Regions from separate parts of the Homo sapiens genome. Here region 1 is linked to region 2. The links are contacts of gene promoters, found by promoter capture Hi-C in blood cells and fetal thymus (Javierre and others, 2016). All regions are on one chromosome and are shown on one strand. Each heading gives the region's core, a stretch centred on a gene start or on the middle of the fragment in contact. The rest is flanking DNA. Distances are from core to core; before and after follow the strand shown.

What was found. The method cuts DNA at HindIII sites, captures the fragments that hold promoters and counts their contacts. A CHiCAGO score of 5 or more calls a contact.
Region 1: the fragment with the promoter of KIF5C here is called in contact with the fragment with the promoter of NMI in region 2 in 1 of 17 cell types (naive CD8 T cells); the score reaches 11.7 in naive CD8 T cells.

Annotation. Positions count from the first base shown.
Region 1 is chr2:148,873,958-148,876,843 of GRCh38, forward strand. It overlaps KIF5C (kinesin family member 5C), which reads left to right and starts at 1,270. Exons shown (of 26, transcript NM_004522.3): 1 at 1,270-1,786. The coding sequence starts at 1,661. KIF5C-AS1 (KIF5C antisense RNA 1) reads right to left here. Exons shown (of 4, transcript XR_001739733.2): 4 at 1-2,238. RefSeq lists a silencer at 1,094-1,563 and enhancers at 1,936-2,514, 2,515-2,886. The HindIII fragment of the contact is 10,493 bases long and covers 1-2,886 here.
Region 2 is chr2:151,288,385-151,291,084 of GRCh38, forward strand. It overlaps NMI (N-myc and STAT interactor), which reads right to left and starts at 1,284. Exons shown (of 8, transcript NM_004688.3): 1 at 1,209-1,284. RefSeq lists enhancers at 1-2, 803-852, 873-922, 1,313-1,392, 1,453-1,872 and a silencer at 1,053-1,252. The HindIII fragment of the contact is 4,870 bases long and covers 1-2,700 here.

The DNA of each region.
Region 1 (2,886 bases), core at 20-2,519, 2.4 Mb before region 2:
GAGCCTGAGAATTACTTAATTTAAAAACAGATGAGAAGGTGGCACCTGGGTCTTTTTAATCTACTTCCACTGCACATGAGGAGATGAAATAGAACTGGTACTACTTACAAGGGTTTATAAAAGTTGATTTTAGTAGGTCTGTCCTCTCAGCTAGGCAGAGAACACTTGTATTTTCAGGTATTACCCGAATTTAAGCAACAGATGTGTTCCTAAAATTAACTAACTTATTTGTTTTATGATCATTTGTTCAGCACCCAATAACATCTAACTTTCAAGAGCTTATCCTATATACATGTCAGGCACCGTGCTAGGTGCTTTAAAAGCATCTGTCTTTTAATTCCCCCAGAAATCACAAGATGATATTATTCCAATGACAGAGATGAGGAAACTGAGTCTTAAGGAAATTAAGACTTCTTAATTTCCTCCGCTCTTAATTTCCTCCGCCTGTTGGTCATACATCTAATAAGTGGCTGAGGTGGGATTCACACTCATGCATTGCTTCTTCCTAGGGTAGAATCCTTATTCAGTATGCTGCCCACTATGTGCTAGATGCTACAGACACAAAGATATCAAGCAGATATCACCACCCAAGTGCAGTGCTAGAGACAGGCACAGCAGATTAGGGGAACATCAAGGAGGGCCACCAACTCTTTATAGGTGTTTAGTGAGCTGGGAAAGTCTGAGGAAGGAGGGTTGAGCTAGGTCTTAGAGGAAAAGGAAGTTCTGGAAAAATAGAGTGGACACTCAGTTGTTCTGCCAGCCCGGCACCATGTCTGGGAATACCATCCCTCTTCTTTTGGGAACCTTCCCACCAAGGGATTCCTCCATAATCTTACAAAATCCCTGATTCTGGTTGATTGGTTTAGCACTAGATGCCAACCTAAACCAAGGCCAATCAAACCCAAACTCTGAACAGACATCCATCCTTATCTAGTGGTAGAAGTTGAAGGATGAAACCCAGGGGCTATTGGGAGCTGTTTCCCAAGTGATTTTCTTTTGGGATCAGGATGATCCAGACCCAGTTATCTAGAGATTTTAACCGGAAATATTGGATATGACCTCCATCCGGTTCCGGCTTGGGCAGCCAGACCGGACTTGCAGGCTCTTGGAGGTCGCATCCTGTCCTTCCCCCGGCAGGTAGAGTGACTACAAGTCCCGGGATGCGCAGCGCTCGGAGTCGGGCGGGGGCCGGGCGGACCTCTACGGTGACGTCACCGTCCCGGGGCGGGCCAGGGGAGGGCGGGGCGGAGGGGCGGGTCTCAAGGCGGCAGAGCGCGCTGGTGCTGATGCAGGATGGCTGAGCGCGCAGGAGCCCGGGAGGTCTGAGCCGGGCGAGGCTCGCTCCCTGCGCATCGCCTCCTCCGCCCGCCGCGTGGTCGCGGGCAGGTGGGCCGGGGGGCGCTGGGCAGGGGCGGGGCAGGGCCAGGGCAGGCCGGTCTGCAGCCGGAGGGGCCGGAGCGGAGAAGCTGCCCACCTTCCCGGGCTCGGAGCGGCCGGGGCTGCTCAGCCGGCCGGGCTCGCGATGACCTGCTGAGAAGCGTCGTCGGAGGCTGCAGGAGGCGGCCTAGCTGTGGGCGGTGCAGCTCGCGGCCTCCTCCCTCGTCGTTCCCGGCCCCGGCCCCCCACCCATCCCCGTGCCCCCTCCCTACCGCCGGCCGAGATGGCGGATCCAGCCGAATGCAGCATCAAAGTGATGTGCCGGTTCCGGCCCCTCAACGAAGCGGAGATCCTCCGCGGGGACAAATTCATCCCCAAATTTAAAGGCGATGAGACCGTGGTGATCGGGGTAAGTGGCTGGGGCGTCTGCCTTCCCTGCTGCTCCGCGCCGCAGCTGGGCGCCCCGACGCCCCAGACGCAGCGGAGGTGTTTAGGCCGCCCCCTCGGACATTCCCGCGGGGCTGGCCTCTCGGGTGGACCTGACCAGAGACCCCTCGCCCCGCGCACTATGGTTCCCTCCCGGGCGGGTGGAGAGGCGGCCGGGAGCGGCGGGCCGGGCGGGGGTGGCGGGGGTGGGGATGGGGGGCGAAGACGGGCTCGGCGCCGCCATTGTTCGCCGGGTGGGGGCCCGGGTGGGCCCATTGTTCCCCACGCTCGCCTCGCCGCGTGGGTAGTGTGTTCGGGTGACCCTCAAGCCGGGTGCCCAGGCCCCCTTTAAAGTGTGAGCTCTGCAACCCGCAAATGCTTCTGGGCATCAATCAATTCGATTTACCAAACGCCTTGCCTCTTCTTCTCACGACCCTAGCAAAAAAGAAAGAAAAAGGGGTACAGGAAAATTTCTAGTCGCGTCTCGGAGCTCCCGCGGCAGTGTAGACGCGGCTCCCCGCGGTGTTACACCTGGCTCCGCGCGCGGAAGGCGGAGGGTTGGGGGAGTACTGGTGGCCTCGGTGTCCCCTGGAGGCCTGGTGTGTCTCCCGCTTCCTCTCACGCCTGGCTGCCCTGGATGTGGAGTCCCGGCTTGATCCCTCCCCTCTGGGATGACCTCCCTCCCATGTCTGCAGACCCTCTGATGCGCCTCACGCTGGGTGGAGAGGAGGCTGTGTCCACATCTGTGGGGCGAGGGGGCTCAGAGCGCAGTAGCCCCCTGTGCCAAGAGCAGAAGTTACTTCGTGCGGCTCGGACCCCCCTCCCTCTCTATCTCCCTTCCCCACCTTTTCTCCCCCACCCCCTCCCCCTACTTAGCTCCCTCTCTGCAGCTGGGGCTGCTGGTAGGGGGAGGGAACACCAATGGATTGTAGTTCTTAAAGGAATCTGTCAGATGAAACAAACCAGCTCGGTCCCCCGCCCCTTCCCCGCCCGCTGTCCGTAGCGTGTGTGGCTGATGGTGCCCCCTTTGTATGCGAGCCGCGTGGGGAGGGACCGAGTTAATGGGAGCCTCCCGGTCCCCGC
Region 2 (2,700 bases), core at 34-2,533:
CCTGAAGATGGAGGAAGGGCTGCTGAGCCAAATAAGGTAGGTGGCCTCCGGAAGATGGAAAGAGGATTCACCCCAAGAGCTTCCAGAAAGGAAGGCAACCCTGCCAACACTTTGATTTTAACCCAGTGAGACCTCAGTAGGACTGCTACAGAATCCTAAGATAGTAAATTGTGTATGTGAGTGTGTGTGTGTGTGTGTGTGTGCGCGCGCGCGCGCGTTCCTATGTGTTTAAGCCACTAAAGCCATGTAATTTGTTATGGCAGCGAATTAAAAAAACTGATACAAATCAACATCACCGTATTTCCGTAATACAATCATATAACTGCGGTGCCAGGCCGTGTAGAATCGAATCTTCCTATATGCATGCGTGGCAGCAAAAAGAAAGGCAATAGAACGTCTGCCTGTTGTACAGACTGGAAACACAGTATTCTCCTTCGGATGTCTCCTTCAAGAAAAACCTTGCCTATTCTGACACGCCAGCCATGACTGCACAACACTGCCCCTACCAAGAATCGTTTTCTTAAGAAATCCGTTTTCCTAAGGACTATCTCCAGAGACACTCGGAGAAAACAGCGAGGGCCGGGCGCGGTGGCTCACGCCTGTAATCCCAGCACTTTGGGAGGCCGAGGCGTGCGGATCACGAGGTCAGGAGATCGTATCCATCCTGGTTAACACGGTGAAACCCCGTCTCTACTAAAAATACAAAAAAAAAAATTAGCCAGGCGTGGTGGCGGGCGCCTGTAGTCCCAGCTACTCTACTCGGGAGGCTGAGGCTGGAGAATGGCGTGAACCCGGGAGGCGGAGCTTGCAGTGAGCCGAGATCGCGCCACTGCACTCCAGCCTGAGCGACAGAGCGAGACTCCGTCTCAAAAAAAAAAAAAAAAAAAAAAAAGAGAGAAAACAGCGAGGAAACACAAATAACTTTATGTTTCAATTTCCTCAATGAAGCAAAGCAAACAAGTGACAAGGCTCGAAGCCCTGACGGCCCAGAGACTGCACAGCGGGCCCAGGAGCAGGTGCGCCCCCTCGAAGGCGGCGTGGCCTCCGCGACTCGGCTGCGGGCAGCTCCCGGGGAGCAGGGTCTCAACTCCGGCGCTGTCCCACTTCCGTCGGCGCTGAGGGCTCCCACCTCCCTTTCCACCCCCGGCTCTCCAGCCCGGGACTGCCAGCGGCGGGAGTGGCAGCCGGGGAAGGGACTCCCCACTCACCCGCGTCCGCCCGCCGAGCGCAGCTCCCCAAGGCCCAGCGCGCCTGCCCTTCCCGGAAAACAGCAGCGCCTGAAACGCCGGAACCCCGGGAGGCACTGGGAGGGGAAGGCCCGGGTTCTCGAAACTGTCGCTGCCTCCTGCAGAAGCGCCGCGGGAGAGCTGCGGGGTCTTCCTGAGGAGGTGGCCCTCGCAGGAACAGCTGGGTTCCCCGCGAAAAGAAAAAGACAGTGAAAAAGAAAACTGCTTTAACGGCGATTTTTCTTTAGCATTTAACCAATGCTCAAATACTAAACATGGTTGTCTCCAATGATTAGTCACTAACAGAAAAAAAAACTAATTTCACTTTCGATTTTTAAAAAGGGGTGGTTTTGCGGAGGAAAGCAGAAGTATACCTGAAGTTTCCGTACACACTAATTTTAGGGAACGCTTTCTAAAACCAGTTTTTTGCATGTATTTTATAAGGTATGTTGGAAAAGTGGATAGAAACCAAATAAAGTCAAAGCAGGAATCGCTCTTCATCAGATTGTAACTCTTTTGTAATTTCTTAGTCATTGTAACACTAGTTGACAAATGTTTACAGTCAGCACAAGATCGGCGTTTCTGTGTCTTTTGTAACATCCCCCGGGGCCATGAAGTTGGGAAAGCTGTGGTGTTCCTGTTGGTTTCTGTGACCCATGTCCCTTGAAAGTTTTCTTATAATCTCTTGTTTTGTTGTGGAGCTTGTAAATAAATACTTCACTAGGTGTGAACTTTTCCTTTGAAAATTCAAACATCTGGTTTATTTCAAGAACTGCAGTGTCTCTTAATCCCACACAAAGAACCACCCCACAGCTGCCCCGGCTCATAAATACAGATGTGGGAAGAAAATGAGTCAAAATTATTTCAAGGCATAAATTATAGGTTATCATGCTACCTAGTCACATATAATAACTGATACAGTGGTCTAAAATAGTTTAACAAAAGTAAAATTTCTTTGTATCAAAAAGGTTGATGGGAACCAGTTTAAAGTGGTGACATTTCTCTTTTTTTTTTTTTTTTTTGAGATGAGTCTTGCTCTGTTGCCCAGTCTCCAACTCCTGAGCTCAAGCAGTCCTTCCACCTCCACTCCCAAGTAGCTGGGATTACAGGAATTCACGACCGCACCCAGATTTTTTGTACTTTTAATTTGGGTGCTGGGGGCAGGTATCTAACTGTTTCCCAGGCTGATCTTGAGCTCTGGCCCAAGTGATCCCACCACCTCAGCCTCCTGTAAAATGGCATTTCTAAGTAAAAAAAACGACTTCTTTGTGCTTATCAGACCAGTTAGAAAATACAAAAACTCCTTCTGCTGCAACTTGAGAAAGAATTACTTTAGTTTTACCTTGAAATTTTAGAGGGAATATGAACTCTCGAGGTTATTTAGTTGAACCTCATTTCTTCTTATTTTTATTTTTTACAAGAAGATACTAAAGGACAGGACCATGGCCAGAACAGGACTAACTTAATATATTGA